7 separate regions of the Homo sapiens genome follow, and all the other regions are linked to region 6. The links are contacts of gene promoters, found by promoter capture Hi-C in blood cells and fetal thymus (Javierre and others, 2016). All regions are on one chromosome and are shown on one strand. Each heading gives the region's core, a stretch centred on a gene start or on the middle of the fragment in contact. The rest is flanking DNA. Distances are from core to core; before and after follow the strand shown. Region 1 overlaps SLMAP (sarcolemma associated protein). Region 2 overlaps SLMAP (sarcolemma associated protein). Region 3 overlaps SLMAP (sarcolemma associated protein). Region 4 overlaps SLMAP (sarcolemma associated protein). Region 5 overlaps SLMAP (sarcolemma associated protein). Region 6 holds the start of APPL1 (adaptor protein, phosphotyrosine interacting with PH domain and leucine zipper 1). Region 7 overlaps SLMAP (sarcolemma associated protein).

The links. Contacts are between HindIII fragments. The CHiCAGO score rates a contact against its expected background, and 5 or more counts as called.
Region 1: a fragment that was not itself captured here is called in contact with the fragment with the promoter of APPL1 in region 6 in 3 of 17 cell types (naive B cells, endothelial precursors and erythroblasts); the score reaches 7.4 in naive B cells.
Region 2: a contact is called between a fragment that was not itself captured here and the fragment with the promoter of APPL1 in region 6, in 1 of 17 cell types (fetal thymus). The highest score is 5.1, in fetal thymus.
Region 3: a fragment that was not itself captured here is called in contact with the fragment with the promoter of APPL1 in region 6 in 6 of 17 cell types (naive CD8 T cells, endothelial precursors, megakaryocytes and 3 more); the score reaches 6.8 in naive CD8 T cells.
Region 4: a fragment that was not itself captured here is called in contact with the fragment with the promoter of APPL1 in region 6 in 7 of 17 cell types (total CD8 T cells, naive B cells, M2 macrophages and 4 more); the score reaches 7.5 in total CD8 T cells.
Region 5: a contact is called between a fragment that was not itself captured here and the fragment with the promoter of APPL1 in region 6, in 8 of 17 cell types (naive B cells, naive CD4 T cells, naive CD8 T cells and 5 more). The highest score is 6.4, in naive B cells.
Region 7: a fragment that was not itself captured here is called in contact with the fragment with the promoter of APPL1 in region 6 in 2 of 17 cell types (naive B cells and endothelial precursors); the score reaches 8.6 in naive B cells.

The regions. Positions count from the first base shown.
Region 1 is chr3:57,842,482-57,845,577 of GRCh38, forward strand. All of the region lies in intron 4 of SLMAP (sarcolemma associated protein), which reads left to right. Among named protein-coding and RNA genes, the nearest start is that of SLMAP, 88 kb to the left of the region's middle. The HindIII fragment of the contact is 3,716 bases long and covers 1-3,096 here.
Region 2 is chr3:57,766,848-57,769,800 of GRCh38, forward strand. The region is part of intron 2 of SLMAP (sarcolemma associated protein); the gene reads left to right. Among named protein-coding and RNA genes, the nearest start is that of SLMAP, 12 kb to the left of the region's middle. The HindIII fragment of the contact is 215 bases long and covers 1,314-1,528 here.
Region 3 is chr3:57,816,991-57,819,883 of GRCh38, forward strand. The region is part of intron 2 of SLMAP (sarcolemma associated protein); the gene reads left to right. Among named protein-coding and RNA genes, the nearest start is that of SLMAP, 62 kb to the left of the region's middle. The HindIII fragment of the contact is 917 bases long and covers 869-1,785 here.
Region 4 is chr3:57,863,489-57,866,307 of GRCh38, forward strand. It overlaps SLMAP (sarcolemma associated protein), which reads left to right. Exons shown (of 25, transcript NM_001377540.1): 11 at 1,060-1,228; 12 at 1,319-1,369; 13 at 1,754-1,804. Among named protein-coding and RNA genes, the nearest start is that of SLMAP, 110 kb to the left of the region's middle. The HindIII fragment of the contact is 770 bases long and covers 1,176-1,945 here.
Region 5 is chr3:57,888,520-57,891,370 of GRCh38, forward strand. It overlaps SLMAP (sarcolemma associated protein), which reads left to right. Exons shown (of 25, transcript NM_001377540.1): 15 at 1,522-1,581. Among named protein-coding and RNA genes, the nearest start is that of FLNB, 120 kb to the right of the region's middle. The HindIII fragment of the contact is 170 bases long and covers 1,400-1,569 here.
Region 6 is chr3:57,226,364-57,229,511 of GRCh38, forward strand. It overlaps APPL1 (adaptor protein, phosphotyrosine interacting with PH domain and leucine zipper 1), which reads left to right and starts at 1,366. Exons shown (of 22, transcript NM_012096.3): 1 at 1,366-1,574. The coding sequence starts at 1,521. It also overlaps a transcript of HESX1 not described here. RefSeq lists a silencer at 1,164-1,823. The HindIII fragment of the contact is 8,451 bases long and covers 1-3,148 here.
Region 7 is chr3:57,793,408-57,796,644 of GRCh38, forward strand. All of the region lies in intron 2 of SLMAP (sarcolemma associated protein), which reads left to right. Among named protein-coding and RNA genes, the nearest start is that of SLMAP, 39 kb to the left of the region's middle. The HindIII fragment of the contact is 168 bases long and covers 1,323-1,490 here.

The DNA of each region.
Region 1 (3,096 bases), core at 182-2,681, 620 kb after region 6:
TAAGAATTAAGGTTTTAGAAATGAGTAACTATTAATCAACTAATGATATATTGCTTCTTAAAGACCTTGATGTTTGTATTTGATAATGAGATTTTTCTTTCATGCAGTTTGAAAACTTTGAACAGTTACGTAAGGAATCATCTGTGTTCTCAGGTTCCATCTAGTAGAACTTGTAAATTTTTTCAAAGTCAGTTGGAATGTATTGTGTCTCTATCCTTTGTGTTTCTCTAATTCTTTTCATCTTTGCCCATTTTCTTCTCATTGTTTGTCTTTTCTTATATGGTTAAATATTAGTATCACTTAAATTTTTGCTGCCAATATAGTTATACATAATCTAACTTTCTGGAGAAGATGAATTTTGAACAAGCAATTCTCCAGAGCTGGAGGAAGATCAGAATGGCCTTTAGAGTTGGGTAGTCCAGTTTAAAGTCTGACTCCACTTGTTCTGTGACTTGATCAGGCAACATTTTTCTCATTTGAAATATGAAGATGATGATAGTACCTATTTAACAGGAATTTTATGAGAATTAAACAAGATTTAGTACTTAAAGAACTTGGCATAGTACTTGGCATATAATAAGCACACAATAAACTTTAGCTGTTTCTATTACTGTAAACTAATTTTTAAAAGCATTAAGATGCTTTTGGGTATGCCAGAAAGCCTAGAGTTTAAGTTCCATTGTGTACATAGCATTTATTGCTTTTAAGAACTTCAGAAGATAGTAAGTACTCAACAAGCTGACTTTTTTCCTTCCTTAATTTTTATTACACTGCACAAATAATTTTCCTTTTGTTTTGTTTTCTTTTTTCTTTCTTTCTTTTCCTTTTTTTTTTTTTTTTTTTTTTTTCTTTGACAGCCTGGTTCTGTTGCCTAGGCTGGAGTGTAGTAATCTCGGCTTGCTGCAACTCCACCTCCCGGGTTCAAGCAATTCTTGTGCCTCAGCCTCCTGAGCAGCTGGGACTACAGGTGCACACCACCACGCCCAGCTAATTTTTTGTACTTTTAGTAGAGATGGGTTTTACCATGTTGCCCAGGCTGCTCTTGAACTCCCGAGCACAGGCAGTCCACCCACCTTGGTCTCCCAAAGTGCTGGGATTATAGGCCTGAGCCACCACGCCTGGCCAATAATTTTTAAATGATAAGAAACAGAGAGGCCTGGTCAATAATTTTCTAATGATAAGAAACAAAGAGGCCCAGCCAATAATTGCCTTCCTTCCTTCCTTTTCTTTCTTTCTTTCTTTTTCTTTCTTTCTTTCTTTCTCTCCCTTTCTCTCTCTTTCTTTCTTTTCTTTCTTTTTTTTTTTTTTTTTTTTTTGAGACAGAATCTCACTTTTGTCAACCAGGCTGGAGTGCGGTGGGATGATTTCGGTTCACTGCAGCCTCCACCTCCCAGGTTTAAGTGATTCTCCTACCTCAACCTCCCAAGTAGCTGGGATTACAGGTGCATACCACCATGCCCAGCTAATTTTTGTGTTTTCAGTAGAGATGGGGTTTCACTATATTGGCCGGGCTACCTCAAACTCCTGACCTCAGGTGATCTGCTCCCCTCAGCCTCCCAAAGTGCTGGGATTACAGGCATGAGCCACTGCACCTGGGCCAACCATTTTCTAATGATTAGAAACAGAGAGGCCTGGCGCAGGTGGCTCGTGCCTGTAATCCCAGCACTTTGGCACTCTGAGGCGGACAGATTGCCTGAGCTCAGGAGTTTGAGACTAGCCTGGGCAACAGGGCAAAACCCCGTCTCTACTAAAAATACAAAAAATTAGCCGGGCGTGGTGGTGAGCGCCTGTAGTCCCAGCTACTCAGGAGACTGAGACACGAGAACAGCTTGAACCCCGGAGGCGGAAGTTGCAGTGAGCCAAAATCAGACCACTTCACTTCAGGCTGGGTGACAGAGTGAGACTCTGTCTCCACAAAAAAAAATTTTAAAAATTAAAAAAAAAAATTGCATATAATCCCACCACTCTAACACTAAGTAACTATTTTCATTTTCCACATTTCCTTCTTATGGTTTGTATATGCATATGAACTTAATTCATACTTCAGAATATACTTATATCCAGGGTAGTTTTTGTAAAATACAGATGTATATCACTTATGGAATGTGTTGCCGGATTTTTAGCCATTTGTTTATTAATGGGATTGTTATGAGAAGATTTTATACTTGGGTCACTAAGAAAGGTGAATTAAAAAAAAAATCCCTATTATACCATTTGTTTCTATTTAGACTTTTTTTTTTTTTTTTTTTTGGAGATGGAGTCTTGCTCAGTTGCCCAGGCTGTAGTGCGGTGGTGTGATCTCGGCTCACTGCAACCTCCGCCTCCCAGGTTCAAGTGATTCTCCTGCCTCAGCCTCCCAGGTAGCTGGGATTACAGGTGCCCTCCACTACACCCGGCTGGTTTTTGTATTTTTAGTAGAAACAGGTTTCACCATGTTGGCCAGGCTGTTCCCAAACTCCTAACCTCAAATCATCTGGCATTTAGACATTCTTAAGTTCATTTCACTATATGTGCATATCTGCAGAGAAAAGGATATATACCCACAATGGTTATCTCTGAGTGCTGGTATTGAGTAATTTTTATGTATTTCCTCATGATTTACTTCACACATTTTCCATAATCAATATTTGTTATATTCAAGAAAAATAAATTATTGTTTAAAATGCCTATTTCAATGTTCTGGAGTAAAGTTATACATAATTTTAAAAAAATCTTTACTAGGCACCAACTTTGTTAGGGCCTGCTGATGGGCTTTGGGCATATACAGGTGAATAGGTCATAGTTCCTGAGAACACAGATGTATAATCAAAGAAGGACAGTAAAGTTTATGTAGGCTCAATGAAGTCTGTATCATGGGTGCTCAGAAGGGAGGTGGGTGCTGGTAGTTAATATTCCATTTTATTCAGCATTTTAGTGTATTTGTGACTAGTTGAATTAGACCAGTTCTTACAGTGTTTGCAGTTATTAAGGTGGGATCAAAATTATTCCTATTTTTAACTCACATCTAATCAGTTTTTCAGCAGCTTACATATGATTTATCAGTTCAAGCTAAGAACTTTACTCAGTCAACCTTCAAGCTAACCATTATAAGAATGG
Region 2 (2,953 bases), core at 171-2,670, 540 kb after region 6:
ATTAATTGCTTCTTCCTCTATACTTCCATTTAACTTTGTGTATAATTTCTTTATTTCTTTTTTTTAAATTTATTTTTATTTTTATTTTTGAGACAGGGTCCCTCTCTGTCACCCAGGCTAGAGTGTAGTGGTGTGATCTTGGCTTACTGCAGCCTCCACCTCATGGGTTCAAGCAGTTCTCCTGCCTCAGCCTCTCAAGTAGCTGGGATGACAGGCACCCCCCAGCACACCTGGCTAATTTTTGTATTTTTAGTAGAGATGGGATTTCACCATGTTGCCCAGGCTGATCTCGAACTCCTGGCCTCAAGCAATCCACCTGCCTCAGCCTCCCAAAGTGCTGGGATTACAGGTGTGAGCCACTGCACCCGGCCTGTATATAATTTCATTATGGGACATAAACAACAAAATAACTATGATGCAAATGTACTACTGTCCCATCAGATGTGAACTCTTGAGAGCAAGAGAATAGGCACTACATTCATGTTTGAATGAGGGAAATGTGAACAATGGAGCGGTTTGTATTTCTGCAAACCTGTGCAGTGTTAAAGGGCAGAAAGTCATTCAAGTTAGTTCTCAATTTGAGATCATGGACTCAATTATCAATATGTAGTCTTTGTATAAGTCATTATTTATTGAGAGCTTGCAGTTTGCAAAACATTTTGCTAAGTGTTTTTGGATCGTAGATCCAAATCTTGTGATTGGTGATATGAAATTATATATATGAACTATTACAATTTCACACAAAATAATTTTAAAAGGTTTTAGAATAATCAGAGTGCTTTCTTGTTTCATTTGGTCTATATAACACTCTTAGAAGGTAAGTAAAACAGCTGCAGTCTGGCTCGCTTTTGTCCAAAAAGAGTTTGATGTTTAGAGGTTATTTGTACAAGATCATCTAGTGGTAACTATGGGAGTTTTTTTCCCCCCAAAATGAAAGCCAACTATTAGACATTTATTCTGAACTGTCTTCTTAGGGACTGAGCAATTATTATGAAAATCTGTCTTTTGCTCTCTTGAAAGGTAATCTAAGCTATTGCTTTTTGATGTATAACCGAAACTTGTCATATTACGGACTTTCAAAGACTGAAATAACTCAAGTTAATTATTTCTCTGAGTCAGCTAACATTTTTAAAAACTTACCTCTACTACTCCTAGAAATACAATATTTTTTCTTGGGCTTGCATTCAGGCAAACTGATTTGGCTTTGGGTATATATGAAAATGAATGAAACAGCCTTGGAAAAACTTGTTTGGCCATGTACATTTTTCATGCTTTATAAGAGAGTAGCTGACAAATGTAAAGAAAAGAAGGAAAGCTTATATAGGCACTTGAAAATATGGACGTGTTTGGTGGTTAGTACTGTATCTTTTGTCAAGTATACAATTTGGGTTGGATTTTAAATTTAAGCACATAGAAACTGTGTGTTAAGATTTTCTCAATATTTTCAGGCTTACAGTTTTATTTATATATAAGTACTGACTTATTCTAGCTGAGCCAAGCAGAAAGGATTTTCCAATATAGACTTTCAAGCTTTTCTTATTTTTTACTTATACAAATAACAGGAATACATTCTCATAAAAAGTCAAGCAGGCCAGGTGTGGTGGCTCACACCTGTAATCCTAGCACTTTGGGAGGCTGAGGCAGGAAGATTGCTTGAGGCCAGGATTTCAAGTTCAGCCTGGGCAACTGTTTATATGAAATGTGTAGAATAGGTAAATTCATAGAAACAAAGATTGGTGGTTTCTAGGGGCTGAGGGTAATTAGGAATGTGATGGTTAATTTTATGTCAGTGTGGCTAGGCTGTGGTATCAGTTTTTCACTTGACCAACTTTTGGTCAAACACCAACCTGATATTCCTGTGAAAGTATTTCTTAGATGTGACTAACATTTATACCATTATACTTTGAGTAAAGCATATTACCCTCCATAATGTGGGTGGGCCTCTCTAATCAGTCGAAGGCCTTAAAAAAAAAGACTGAGGTCCCCCTGAAGTTAGGAATTTTGCCCTCACAAAGCTGTTGGACTCAAGACTACACAACAGCTCTTCCCTGAATCCCTAGTCTAATGATATGCCCCGCCAATTTCATACTTGCCAGCACCCCCCACCCCAGTTGCGTGAGCCAATTCCATTAGATAAATCTCTCTATATAAATGTACATGCAATCGGTTCTGTTTTTCTAGAGCCTTGACTAACATAGGATATGACTGCCAAATTGGTACGAGTTTCTTTTTGGGATGATGAAAATGTAAAATTGATTGTGGCGATGGTTGCACAACTCTGAATTGTATACTTAAATTGGCAATTGTATGGTGTTTGAATTATATCTCCAAAAAGGATTTTCATTTTATTTTATTTTTTTTTTGAGATGGAGTCTTGCTCTGTTGCCCAGGCTGGAGTGCAGTGGCGCGATCTTGGCTCACTGCAAGCTCTGCCTCCTGGGTTCACGCCATTCTCCTGCCTCAGCCTCCTGAGTAGCTGGGACTACAGGGCGCCTGTCACCACGCCCAGCCAGTTTCTTGTATTTTTAGTAGAGATGGGGTTTCACCGTGTTAGCCAGGATGGTCTCGATCTCCTGACCTCGTGATCCGCCCGCCTTGGCCTCCCAAAGTGCTGGGATTACAGGCATGAGCCACCGCGCCCGGCTGGATTTTTTTTTTTAAGACACAAGGTCTCACTATGTTGCCCGGCTGGTCTCAAATTCCTGGGCTCAAGCAACCCTCCCACCTCAGGCTCCCAAAGTGTTAGGATTACAGGGTGAGCTACCGCACCTAGGCCCAAAAAGGAATGTTAGATGAAGTAATAGCTTAGTGAAAGCAGCTTGGGATATAGGAAGTAGAAGACAGTGAGTGAGTATTCAAGGTAGGTAGGATTAACAGAGCAACTTTTGAAGTACCATATAGTTTGATTTTTCTCTCTGCTTCCTTATTGTGAATGTCTTACTCTTGGTTGGAC
Region 3 (2,893 bases), core at 77-2,576, 590 kb after region 6:
ATTAGGTTAGATAGGGTGATTAGGGTCATTTTGAAAGACTTTGAAAGTCACAGCTCTTGGACTTGATTTTGAAGTCAGCAGAGGGTCAACAGTCTTTTTATAAAGTGAAACAATGTGATCAGGTTTGTGTTTTAGGAAATAAGTCTAGCATCAGTGTGGAGGGTGTAGAGTGTGGAATTATCTTGGCAATGGTTAGGGTAAGAGGAACTGTAATCGGAAGGGAAAGGCAGTATGCAATTGAGAGATTTTACTGAATCAGAAATCATAGGAATTGGTGACACATTAGATGCCCTGAGGTTTTATTGATATTATTTATTATTACTGATAGTATTATTACCGTTATTATGCACTTACTGTAAGTGATTTCTGATGGTCACAAATCCATTCTATTATTAGTGGCTGCTGACTGAATTTCTGTTAAGAGATGCTCAGGAAATGATGGGTAAATGATGAGATGAGTCTAGGTTGTAGATGTTACAGTCATGTAATATTTATTTAAAATATTTATTTGGTTCCTGCTCAGAAGGCATTTTGTTTAGGATTGGGAATACCCCAATCTTCAAAGAATTTGCCATATTCATGAGGAGTCTAAGCGGCCTTGTTTGCTGTTCTTTCTGTATAATCTTTGGACTTATGTTTTAACTCCTCATTCTGTTGGCTCATGTGGGATGCTGCTTATTTCATAGTGTTCTGAAGTTTAGATGAGGTAGTGTATGTAAAGTACCTAGTATAGCTCCTAGCATGAGCAAAAGCTAGTTCCCTTCTACTCTGTCATGGACACAGAAACTGGAAAACCCAAATTTATTAGGATTGTGTGTCAAATAGGTGGTAGCAGGTAGTGAATGAATTTCTGAAAGAAATTTTTAAAAGCTTACCTTTCCTGATGATTTGGCATCAGAAGGTCTGATTGCTATTTTACTATTCTTACCATTGTGACTATAGATAGGTCACTTGGTTTGTCAGCCTAAATTTACTGATTTATAAAATGAACAGAATCCTTGCTGTTTTATAGGCGGTCTGGAGAAATAGTAGAGATAGTGGATATAAAATTGCCAGATAAACATTAAGTAGTATAGCAGAATGGTTGAGATCTAAAGTTTACTAGCTTAGGAGACCCTTTGGCGAGTTACTTAACCTCTTTTAGTCCTGATTTCTTTTTTGTTTTGTTTTGTTTTGTTTTTTGAGATGGAGTTTCACTCTTGTTGCCCAGGCTAGAGTGCAGTGGCGCAATCTTGGCTCACTGCAACCTCCGCCTCCCGGGTTCAAGCGATTCTCCTGTCTCAGCCTCCCTAGTAGCTGGGATTACAGGCATGCGCCACCACACCCAGCTAATTTTGTGTTTTTAGTAGAGACAGGGTTTCTCCATGTTGGTCAGGCTGGTCTCGAACTCCCGACCTCAGGTGATCCACCCGCCTCGGCCTCCCAAAGTGCTGGGATTACAGGCGTGAGCCACTGCGCCTGGCCATAGTCCTGATTTCTTTATCTGAAGTATGGGGATAATATAACATCTGCCTCATGAGAGTGTTATATAGATTAAGTGAAAAAATGCATGCAGAGTAGTTTATCCAAGCACATGGTAAGCACTCAAAAACTGGCAATGATTATTGTAAATTATGTGGTACCCTTTTGTCACTGTAGAATAATTTTCTTTGATCTTGCTTTCTCTTGTTAAAACTTCTGTATATAAGTGATGTATATAAGTGATTCTGGATATAAGTGATGTTACCTTTGATGGTAGTGAAAGAAATCAGCAATGCTTTTAAAAGAAAACTTCATACTTTCATAAGCTTTGGCTCCAAAAACTTCCTAGGGAAAAATGTCTAGGGACTTATGTTTAAGTCATAAATAGAGATAGAATTTGAATGTGATACTTTCTATTACTAAATTTCAGTTCAAAATTTTAAAAGAATTAGTGATTCTTAACTGGGAGCATTACTAATTCTGAGAAGTGCTGGATATCATGAGAGGTGTTTGAACAGCTGAATCATGTGGCAGCAGAAAAATGAGAGCCTCTGTACTAAACTCACATAAGGAGTTTATTTTCCTTCTTCCAAATAGTCATTTCCCATTTCAGACAAAATGACTGTTTCATAAATTGCATTGTTATTATTTCCATTTATTCACTTATGGTCCCCAGAAAGTTTGTTTGCTTTGTCTTTCAAAGTAGAATTATTATAATTTTTAAAGAACTTACCTGTGGATGTCTAAATTTTCAAAGCCTTGAGGAGATATATCTCTCAAAGAATTAACTATGACTAAAAACGAAGAAATATGAGTAAAGACCAAGATGTTTGAAACAAAGTTATATGCCAACTTGAATGATTGTGCCTAAAGAATGAAAAGGCCATCATAATTATTTTCATTACCTCATAAATTTAAAGCATTTTTAAAAGCTATGAATGTTCTTTTTTGGGCAGGTGTACTATTTATGTCTTTTAACATTTCCACTGAATTTGTTTGCCAAATAAATTCTTTGTGTGTGGGCAGGTTTTTCCCCCCCACAAATAAGATGCATAGTCCTATGATTTTCCAATTTTACCAATCTTTAATGGAAATTTTTTTCTTTTAGTTTCTCTCTCTCCTACCTCTTAATGACTGTATAGATCAATATCAACTATCCTTAGATGGAGCCCATTGTATGCATTATTAAACAGTTTATAAGGCTTTAAACCTAGTGACCTTGTTCTTTTTTTCCCACAAATGTGATCACGGGTACTTCCTTTTGTGGCAAACATGGCTGTTATTCTATGGGTAAGGTGTTGTTTTTGTTGTTGTTTGTTTTGAGACAGGGTCTCACTCTGTCATAAGCCTGGGGTGCAGTGGTGCCTCATAGCTCACTGCAGCCTCAAACTCCTGGGCTCAAGTGATCCTCCTGCCTCAGACTCCAAGTAGG
Region 4 (2,819 bases), core at 311-2,810, 640 kb after region 6:
GTAATTTATAAAGATAAGAGGTTTATTTGGCTCACAGTTCTGCAGGCTGAAGCTTCAGGCTGCTTCCACTGATGGCAGAAAGCAAAGTGGAGCTGGTACGTGTTCCATGGTGAGAGAGGGTCTGGGAGAGGTGCCAGGCTCTTTTTAAAAACCAGCTTTCATAGGACTAATAGAGTGAGAATTCACTCATTACCATGAGGACAGCACCAAGCCATTCATGAGGGATCTGCTCCCATAACCCAAACACCTCTCATTAGACCCCATCTCCAACACTGAGGATCAAATTTCAACATTGAGGCTTGGGGGACGAACATCCAAACTATAGGCAGAGAGGTCTTTTTGAATAGTGATTGTACTGTCATCTCGTTACTAAATAATTTTGTTTAAAATTTCAGAATGTTAACATGATAGAACTTCAAAATTGAAATGATAGTAATTTTAGGGAAAAATCTTACTTCCCTCTTTAAAAATACGATTTTTTTTTCCACATTGACCCTTTACCTCTGTGTGTACTGAGCCTACTTGCTTCCTCCAAGTTTCTCTCTCCTGGGTGTTATGGAGGAATAACCCAATGCAGATAATTTTTGACATCAAGCCTTTGTCTTTATCATCTTTACTGGTTTAGAAATGTCAGGTTAGCCGGGCGCAGTGGCTCATGCCTGTAATCCCAGCACTTTGGGAGGCCAAGGTGGGCTGATCATCTGAGGTCAGGCGTTCGAGACCAGCCTGACCAACATGGAGAAACCCCGTCTCTTCTAAAAATACAAAATTAGCTGGGTATGGTGGCGCATGCCTGTAATCCCAGCTACTTGGGAGGCTGAGGCAGGAGAATCACTCGAACCCGGGAGGCGGAGGTTGCCTAGGCAACAAGAGTGAAACTCCATCTCAAAAAAAAAAAGAAAGAAAGAAATGTCAGGTTTACAGATAATGTTCTGTAGAACATTTCTTTTCTACAGAACAAACTTTTCTTAGAAGTTTAAGTGAATAAAGGCATTCCTGGGGCTCGCTCTTAAAACAGAGTTAGGTTTGTTAAATAACTGAATTTTCTTATTTTTCTAGGTAGCAGAGGGAAAACAAGAGGAAATCCAACAGAAGGGACAGGCTGAGAAAAAAGAATTACAACATAAAATAGATGAAATGGAAGAAAAAGAACAGGAGCTCCAGGCAAAAATAGAAGCTTTGCAAGCTGATAATGATTTCACCAATGAAAGGCTAACAGCTTTACAAGGTAAGTAGCTAATCCAGAAATTGATTTTATTTTATTTTTTTTCTTGTTATCTGTGAAATATCTTTTTTTTTTTTGGACTTTTATTTACAGTACGGTTAGAACATCTTCAGGAGAAAACTCTTAAAGAATGCAGCAGCTTGGGTAGGTGGCATCCATATTTCTTACTTAAACCTGAATTTTATCCTTAAACTTTTGACCTTGTTTACTGTCTCACACTGCATTTTTTAAGGGATGTTTTATGTATTAGGTATAAAGTATCTATATTCTTTTAGAAAATTTTCTTTAAAAATATGCTTGATTGCCACCAGTGGGCACCATTGTTTTCCTTGAGATGAGTGAAATTTCTGCTCTGAGATCTTCTACCTCGGGATATTTAAATAAGAAAAGTACATGAACAGCAGGATCCCTTTTAAAGTGTTCTATACAATCTTAATCTTAGGAATGCAGAATGCCATGGTTACACTTGAGACCACATTTAAAGTAATACTTCTTTGATCAGGCAATGATATACTGTCTTAATCCTAGGGATACAAGTTGATGACTTCTTACCTAAAATAAATGGGAGCACAGAAAAAGGTAGTGTAAAAAACTTAAATATATATATACTTTTTATGATATCATTTTAGTATTTAAGCAGGATAAGGAGTTCAGGGTTTTAAGTGTTTGGAATGAAAAGCATGCTCTCACAGATCATTGAACCCCATCATTTAAAAATCAAGCTTTCCTTTATTTTGTAAGAGTTGATGCTGTGATCAATTCTTAGATATCCCTTGTTATATGGAAATTTCAATTACTCAAATCAGAAAATTATTAAGTTCACCTTTAGCAATATATAATATAGATCTTTTTCCCCACTCTGTTTTTCGAAGAGCTGTACTACCATTTTGTTTCATCAAGTTCTGCCTCCAGTGATACTTGACCCCCATTTAAAACATTCGAGTTTATTTAACAGCTTATTGAGCCCTTGGACATATCATAGAAACTACTTTGTTTATCCATCTGTTTCATTGATCAGAGAGAACAGGGTCAGTTTTTTCTGCCATCAGAAAAATCTTTTATTAGTTGTTGGTTCTGTGACCCTTCTTTCTGGACAGCGTGGGTTCTCTCTTGCCAAAAACATATAGCCACTATTGGTTTTCCTGTCACTACACGGGGTACTTTTTACCCAGTGACCTCTATTATCCTTCAGTCTTGAAGATCCCTAGTCATTCTCCTTCTCTCCCCTTCCATCTAACATTAATTGAGCACCAACTATGTGCCAGACCCTGCGCTAGGTGCTTGGAGTACAGTAGAAATTAAACTCTTTTCTGTGTTTACCAATCTATGTGCCTTTCATCTCAGTTTTCTACAGAAGTTAGTCGAAGATATCAGAGTTGATACCCAGAACTTATTAAATATTTTTTCCCTTAGCCAGGCATTGTGGTGTGCGCCTGTAGTCCCAACTACGTGGGAGGCTGAGGTGGGAGGGTCAGCTGAGCCCAGGAGGTTGAGGCAGCAGTGAGCCATAATTGTGCCACTGCACTCCAGCCTGGGTGACGAGCAAGGCCCTGTCTTTAAAAAAGAAAAGAAAAGAAAAGAAAAGACAAAATAT
Region 5 (2,851 bases), core at 235-2,734, 660 kb after region 6:
GGCAGGAGAATCATTTGAACCCGGGAGGCAGAGGTTGCAGTGAGCTGAGATTGTGTCACTGCACTCCAGCCTGGTGACAGAGTGAGACTGTCTCAAAAAAAAAAAAATAGTGATTATAGATTGACAAAATGCAACTCTTGAGGATGGTAGTAGAAAATGGCAAAATTTAACCGTGTAAAATAGATTCTCAATAAATATCTAAAATGGAAAAATAAAATCAATGTATTATTTAGAAATATAAATGTAAGTATCAGAAGAAATGGCTAAAAGTTGTAGGAAGTGAATTTTAGGAATGGAGTGAAGTAGGACAGAGGACAGGTAGGACAGCTTACATTATACATCTTAATCAAAATCTGTTACTTTCTGTTTTTTTTTCTTTTTTTCTGTTTTTTTTTGAGATGGAATCTCGCTCTGTCATACAGTGGCGCCATCTCTGCTCACTGCAAGCTCCGCCTCCTGGGTTCACACCATTCTCCTGCCTCAGCCTCCCGAGTAGCTGGGACTACAGGCACCCGCCACCATGCCCAGCTAATTTTTTGTGTTTCCAGTAGAGACAGGGTTTCATCATGTTAGCCAGGATGGTCTCTGTCTCCTGACCTCGTGATCCACCCGCCTTGGCCTCCCAAAGTGCTGGGATTACAGGCGTGAGCCACTGCGCACGGCCCCTCTTTCTGATTTTAAAAAGTCAGAGACAAAGTGCCACATACTGCAAAGAGCCTATGAGAAATGAAAATTAAGAAAAGGAGCCATGGGCATTGGGAGACTAGAGGCTATAATGATATTGGAGCAGTTTCAATGGTTGAGTGGTGGATGTAGACCAAGTTGCAGTTGGTTGTAAAGCAAGAGAATAGAAAATTTTCTTCACATATATTACAAATGAATAAATTGAAGGAGACCAACTGACATACAGGAGTAAATAAGGGGACACAGAATAGATATATCCTCTTCAATGAAACGTGGAATATGAAAATATGACTTTAAATTATAAAAAAGTAGCATTATACATTTACAGAAAATCCCCCATAAAACAAAACAAAATTTTTTTATTTCTTTGAATAGCTTTTCTAAAATGATTCATTTACTGAAATACATTATATAGGCATCTCTGCTGAATTATGTCAGCAGAGAACAGTAAACTATCGATATAACTTAATTTTTATTACTTCTTCATTTGAATAAATACCTTTTCATAAATCTTTTATTTTAACTTAATAGCCTTGATCTAAAGAGGATTGCTTTATTTCTTCTGAGCCCTTTTTATAAAAATATCTAGGCTTTTAAAATAAGGTGAAAATAAAAGGCAAATTGTCTGCCTGCCCCTAGTTTTCTGCATTAACGTGATTGCTCCGTCATAGTTCCAGTTCTCTTAGTTCCCCTTCCAGATTCAAGTTTTTATTCAAGCTTGGTCATAGGAGTAATGTTATCATCTTTAAATTTGGTCATGGAATGTGTTACACTGCCCAGCTCAGGGAAATGCTGCTCAGTTTGGGCTTGGATGGTAACGTTTATTTTCCTTGGCAGAGAAGCTGATCGTCGAAGGGCATCTAACCAAAGCGGTAGAAGAAACAAAGCTTTCAAAAGGTTTGTTTTCTGTTTTTCTATGTTTTTTGACAGTTCTTTTGGATAATGAAGGTTAGTGTATATTTTCAAGGTTATAGTATTTTAACCATCAGTTTACTTCTTATAGCTCACAAAATAGCAAGCCAGTAACAGTATCAGATAATATATAAAATAATCAGACTTCTGTTTTAAGAAGGGTATCGTAACTGGAATGTGTCTTTTTAAGTGGATGTATATTTATGGTTTTTTGAATGTTAGTACTTGATATAGGTTTCTTTAGGTATTAAAGATTTGTTGCAATCTCTGTCATTCCCAGCATTAATTTCAGCTTTGATCTCAAATTTTAATCAAACACAATGTAAGTCGTTTGTGATACAACTTAAGTGAAACATGCTTGCACTTCTATTTTGGGGGTTACAGTACCTTTAAAATCTCTTATGATGTTTAATATTTCCTTAATTTTTGGCATCTCAGTTTGATTTAAACAAAATTAATGACTTTTGTGAATGTAGAATCTTCTTATATTTTATGAGTAGTCCAGTAATTGCCCAAAGTAGTTTATTGTGTTAATTCTGTTACAGTTGTCAGAGAAGAAAAGTGAGTTTTAAAGCACCATATTGTCAAGTCACTTTTATACATAGGGAAATTAGGCAAATAAATTTGGTGGCATGTGTTTATCATAGTAGAACTTTCATTAGACTATACCAGTATAAAATTTAAAACTAGATTCACAGTCCTTTTGGCCAATTAAAACATTGAGTTACAAAAGTTTGAGATACTTAATTTTAGTACATTCTATTTTATTAAAGTAACTGGATTCATTTGACTTTTTTAACCATGTAAGAGGATGGTGTTATTTCAAATATCTCGTGGTTTCCATTCTGAATTTTGTGCACGGCAGATGCCATATTTGGGGAAAAAATGCATAGAATATGCATCATTAATATTGTTTTGGCAAACAGGCATTGAGTTTCAGAACAGTGAACTATTTTTAGTACATATGGCAATTTTTTTCACCTTATTAAAGTGAGATGAGAACAGACCTTAAAATAGCTTTTACCTCACCATCCAAATACCTATTCAGATTAGTTGGTTGAATAGCCAGCACTTTGAAGTAGAGCCTTAGGAAAAAAAAAAAAAATGCTTCTTTAATTAAAATATCTTGCTATCTTATCACTTATATTTAATGCATTCTAAATTAGAAAATATTTTCTTGAAATTATGTTTTATCATTATTGGAAAAGTTTTGTGCATTACTGATTTCCCTTTTTAATTTATTGTTTTTATCTTA
Region 6 (3,148 bases), core at 116-2,615:
CAAGGAAAAAGAAACTGTAACACAACTGGGAACCCTTAACTCATTGTAAGAACTGCCTCCAAATCAACTTCCTCAAAAACTAAAGAACTCTTCGGGAGAGAGAGACTGGCTGATAAACAATCTAAGGGGAAAACTTTTAAAGATTGTAACACTAAAAATAATTCCGTAAAACTACAATGCAAGTCTACTCAACAAAACTTTAAAAATATAATTTTATTTTTCTTTCAAGAGATCATGGGAAAATCTACTATTTTCGTTTAAAATATATAACTTCTATTTGTTACTATATTTGGATTTGAGCTACTACTATTCTGGATTTGTTCCCATGTATCTGTGGAACCAGGCAGCTAATTAATCTTTACTCAGCATCTCTGGTATTTCTTGAATGAAAATGGAATGGATTGGTGGAATTAATGGCTAGATGTTTAGAAGACACTACTTACTTTGTTATTTTCTCTGTATAATGATGAAAGCCTACAACTATACAGAGACATAAACGAGCCAGGGTGACAGGTTGGGAAAGATGAAGAGGGAGGAGGAAAGGATAGGCTTGTAGCCCTCATCCGGTCAAATTCCCAACTTTGAGCTTCACTTTATTGTAAAATTAGAGGCTAAAACTATTTAACGCTTCCAAAACTTTTTGATTCAACAAATGCCAATTAGTTACTAACATAATTAATCAGTGTATCCTGATTTTTAAAAGATATTTTCCTTTGTGATTTAAAAGAAACATGGGAGTTGGAGTTGCAGCGTCAGTCCTGAAGGACTGACCTCGGGAGGCCAGGTAGGAACTGATAAACTGGCAACAAAATCACATGTTTTCAACTGAATATACTGATATTCAAGCGTCCAGAAAAACAATTTCGAGCCTACGTTCACAAGTTTGCCAGAAAGCCCTATTATTGACACAGCTGCGGATCTCAGACATCTGAGTTAGTCAGCACCATTCTGCTGGAGGGGATTAAGACTGGACGCTTCGAGCGGAGTTGGGAATGTTATCATCTGAGGAAACTAAAAGGCGCCAGCAGTAGGACTTTCTCCAAGGTCTCTGACAAAATATGTTGCGGGAAAAGTCAACCCGCCCCAAATTCCCCCGTGTGGCCCTAACTCGAGGCTCTGGCTCCTCGCGCCGGCAAGCTGAGGAAGAGACGGTCCCCTGCGATTTAGATACAAACGCGCGCGTGCAGGGAAGGCCATCCCAGGGCAGACACTGCCACCTCCGCCGCTTCCGACGCCCGCGCTCGCGGGAGAGCCTAGCGCCGCACGGGAACCTCCCGACCACCGCCGCAGCGCGGATGGGCGTCCCCGGGAGCCAATGGACGCGCCGGGAGGCGGGGCAGGGAGGCCGAGGGGGCGGGATTTCCCGCACGGCCGCTCGGCGCCTGGAGAAGGCTGTGCGGGCGGGGACGGCTGCAGCCCTTGCCGGAGAGGGCGGGCCGGGGTCAGCTGCGGCGGGCGGGCCGGCGCGGGGAGCTGTGGGCGGCAGCTGCGTCTCCTGCCACCGCCCTCCCTCCGCCACGATGCCGGGGATCGACAAGCTGCCCATCGAGGAGACGCTGGAGGACAGCCCGCAGGTGAGGCGCGGGAGCTGGTGGGCGACGAGGGAGAGCCCAGCTGGCCGACCCCAGGTCTGGCGCCTCCGCGGCTCCCGCAGGTGCCCGCCCCGGCCCAGGTGGGGGCCGCCGCCGCCCTAGGTCACCGCCCGTCGCAGGCCGCGCCCGGAGTTGTGGAGGCTGGGCCCGCCGCCCAAGGCCCGCGTGGGCCTGCTCGGCTGGGCCGAGGGCCGCAGGCGGAGACCGAGCCGCTGGTGCTCGTGGGCCGGGCGGTCACGTACGCGCGCGGGTCCTTTTTATTTGACGAAAGGCGCCGTTTTTATCGCGGTGATGTGAGGTGCCAAATCTCGATCCTGGAATTTTCTCCCTGAGAACCTCTTCAGAAAAATTGCAGAAGGGAGAGAAACCCCGATAGTCTTATTTAATGATTTCCGAGGCTCAGCAAGCTAAGGAAGGAAATGGATCGTTTTTCTTTGGGAGAGGCTGTAAGGTTGTGTGTGGAGCCCTAATGGCAAAGCCCGTGACGGGTCCCGGAGCCCAAGACCGCTCTCCCCGCCGAATGTGCCCGTGTCGCGGCCGTGACTGTGGTCGCTGTCACTCGAGCTGTGCACGGCGAGGGATGGACGGTGCCTTCGCCGCTCCGCGACTGCTGCGCTGCTCCCTGCAGACTTGGCCTTAATAAACTCATCAAAATAAAAGCCCTGTGTTCTGTGCGTCGGAATGATGCTGATGTGGTTGCTCTAGCTTAAGACAGTTTTGGAAAATGTAACCATTTAATATGTTTTCAGTACTGCAGAATGAAAGCAGCTATATTTTTTAAAATGTTGGCAGGGGCTGTAACTTGCATAGGGAAAACTTCATCTCTAAGCCGTTTTACACGATAATTTAAACGGTTTAAGACGGTGTTGCTGGTTGGACACTATTTAGAATGAAACATTTCTGAATTGTTGCTGATTTAGAAATGCAGTTGCACCATTTCGTGTGTCTTTACAGTTGAACATGGCCCCCAAAGAAGAAAAGCAGAAGAGGTCTAGATCTCCTTTTCCTGGATGGCACTTCTGCCATGGATTTTGTGCCAATGTTAATTGCCAAGTTGAAATGGGGCTCTGATTGTAGAATTGATTTGTTCTTTTTTATTCTGAAAGTTATCTTCACAGGCCAGTTGCCTGCTGCTAATGTACTCTTAACAGCTGATAGTGACAAAAAGAGAAACTCACATTTGGTTTATCTTGACTGCCAGTATACTCGGTTCAATTTTTTTCTTGATGATTTCTCCATATAAAGTTATAAACTGTATTTGTTTCAGATGATTTGCAAAAAGTTTGTGGAATTGGTCAGGTGTACTTTGTCATTTTACTTTTTATTATGTAAGATTCAACAGGTTGCCTTACCTTTCTTCTCTTACTTGGCTTTTTTTTTTAATAGCCCATAAAGACTATAAACGGCTCAGAATGGATTGCACACTGCCCTGGAAATGACTTGTGAGGCAGAGATAAACTCTTGACTCATCTAATGTCTTGAGGTTTTTGCCAGATTAGTTTACAACTTAAGAATTGTGGTTTTTTTTTTTCTTTACAAGCATGCATCATACTAGT
Region 7 (3,237 bases), core at 157-2,656, 570 kb after region 6:
GAATACTTCTTGTGTGCTGAGCTCAATTCTATAATTGATAAAAGTTTCTGTCCGTATGGAGCTGACATTCTAGTGTTCAGTATACCATCATCTATCTTTCATCATTACCTCAGCCTATTTAGAACAAATGAGAGTGCTTCTGAAATATTGGCAGCAAATCCAGCATAATTAATTTGTCCTATTAATTTACTGTGTAATAGCAATACTTTCATACATTTCCAGAGTATTCTGGTTAAATTTTAGTTTTGTCCTCAACTACTAGCATTTGGTGAAATCTGCCCATATCTCCTTCAGTTTTATGAATTTAGATAATATATGTACCTTCTTAACCTTGTTCTTTTCTGATGGGTAAACCTTCGCTTATTTTTTAAAGCTGGTGCGGTGACTCATGCCTGTAATCCCAACACTTTGGGAGGTTGAGGTGGGAGGATCACTTCAGCCCAGAAGTTCAAGATCAGCCTGGGCAACAAAGTGAGAACTATCTTTCTTAAAAAAAAAAAAAAAAAAAATCCTGCTGGGTGTGATGGTGTATTCCTGTAGCCCCAGCTACTCAGGACTCTGAGATGGGAGGATCATTTTAGCTCAAGAGGTTAGGACTGCCGTGAGATGTGTTCGAGTTACTGTATTCCAGCCTGGGTAACAGAGAGAGAGAGACCCTTTCTTAAAAACAAAAAAACAGTTTTCTAAAGTCATCAGGAAACTTTTTAGATGAGTCATTCAGTGATTTAGTTTTGGTGGCTGTTCTTTTTATTTTCTCCCTATTCTGAAACTCACTTTCCTAACTTCTTTAGTGTGCATTTTAATAGAACTTTCCAAAATTCTGTTCGTACGCTATACTCTCCTGGTTCTTAATTTTCTGACAGTTTTGGCATTTCTATCTTTGTCTCCATGGTCTGTAGTTACCACAAAGACTTTGTCTTTATCCTTTGGCTTTTACTGTCCTGAGTCTCTTTCAAAAGTCACATACTTACAGTCTTATATTAACACTTATAAGCACTTCGTTTCAAAATTTATGTTTTTTTATGAATTTCTCAACCATTTTAGTTTGTTTTTACTTTTTAAGTGTACACTATAGTGGTCTTTAGTATATTCACAAAATTGCGCATCTATTACCGCTACCTAATTCTAGAACATTTTCATCACTCCCAAAAGAAAGTTTGTATTCATTAGCAGTCACCCCCCCATTTTCTCCTCCCTTCAGACCCTGGCAACCACTAATCTGCTTTCTGTCTCTCTAGATTTGCCTATCTGGACATTTTATATCGATGGAATGATACAACATGTGGTCTTTTGTGTCTGGCTTCTTTCATTTAGCATTTTCAAGCTTCATCTAAGTTCTAGTTTATGTAGGTATTGCATTGCTGGATAAAATTCCATTCTAGAGATAGCTACCACATTTTATTTGTCCATTAATCAGCTGATGGACATTTGAGTTTCTGTTTTCTACTTTCGGCTGTTATGAATAATGTCACTATGAAAGTTTGTGTACAAGCTTTTGTGTGAATTTGTGTTCAGCTGTCTTGGGTACATACCTTGGAATTGAATTGTTAGGTAATATGGTAACTCCGTGTTTAACATCTTGAGGAACTGCCAAAATGTTTTCCAAGGTGCCTATACCATTCCCACCAGGAATTTCTCCACTTCCTGGTCAATACTTCTTAATGTTGGTCTTTTTTGTAGCCATCAGGTGGGTAGGAAATGGTATCTAATGATTTTGATTTGTATTTCTCTAATGACTAATAATCTGATAATCTAATGACTAATAATTGAGCATCATTTCATGTCCTTATCAGACATTTGTATGTATCTTTTTTGGAGAAATATTGATTTATATCCTTTTGAAAAATTGGGGCCGTGCATGGTGGCTCACGCCTGTAATCCCAGCACTGTGGGAAGCTGAGGCGGGCGGATCACGAGTTCAGGAGTTTGAGACCAGCCTGGCCAGCGTCGTGAAACCCCGTCTCTACTAAAAATACAAAAGATTAACTGGGCATGGTGGCGCACACCTGTAGTCCCAGCTATTTGGGAGGCTGAGGCAGGAGAATTGCTTGAGCCTGGCAGGCAGAGGTTGCAGTGAGCTGAGATCACGCCACTGCACTCCAGCCTGGGCAACAGAGAGAGACTGCGTCTCAGAAAAAGAAAAAAAGAAAAGAAAAATTGGATTATCAGTTGTATATTCAGGATATAATTCCTGTATCAGATAAATGATTTGTAAGTATTTTCTCTCATTCTGTGGGTTGTCTTGGTGGTGTTGATTGTGGTAAAATATGCATAACATAAAATGTACCATTTGTACAATTTTAAGTGTACATTTCAGTGGCATTAAGTACATTCACAGTGTTGTGTAACTATAACCTCCATTTCCAGAACTTTTTCATCATCCCAAACAGAAACACTGTACCCATTAAATAATAACTCTCCCTTCCCCCTCCCCCAGCCTCTAGTAACCTCTATTCTACTTTCTGTCTCTAGGACTTTGCCTATTCTAGGTGCTTCAAATAAGTGGAATCATATAGTATTTGTCCTGATAGTATCTTTTAAAGTGTAAATATTTTTAATTTTGATGAAGTCCAATTTATCTATTTTTATTTTTATAAGTAATTTTTAGTAATTAAAACATTTTAAATTCATGTTGTCACTTGTGCCTTTGGTGTCATTTCTAAGAAGCCATTGCCTAATTTAAGGCCATAAACATGTATTTTAACCATTTTGAGTACTCTCTTACTTGGCTCTCCCTTCTATATTTAAAACATCCACCAATATAACTATCAAAGGTTTTATGGGAGGAGTTTTATTAAGTGTTCTGCTCTTTTTTGTTGTTGTTAAGATCAGAATAGTAGTTTTCAAACGGTAGAGTCTTCTGGGATGTTTAGTAAAATAAAAGTCCCTCAGCTGTTTTGTGTATTTGTAATAAACTTCCAGGAGACTTTGCATGATGTGGTTGAAAGAGTGTGGAATTAGGATAGTCTAGCCTGGTAATTAAGAGCATGGATCGTGGAGCCTGACTACCTGGGTGTGAATCGTGGCTGTGTCACTTCCTGGCTGATTTTGGACAAGTCACTTGTTCTCTCTGGACCTTCGTTTCCTCCCTCATAGGATTGTTGCAAGGATTAGCTAGGATATAGCTATAAAGCACTTAGAATATCTGCAAAGCACTTAGAACGATTTGGCAACAGTCACCATATAAGTATTAGCTATTATTATACCCTTTAAGTCACAGTAATGTCATTTCTAGAG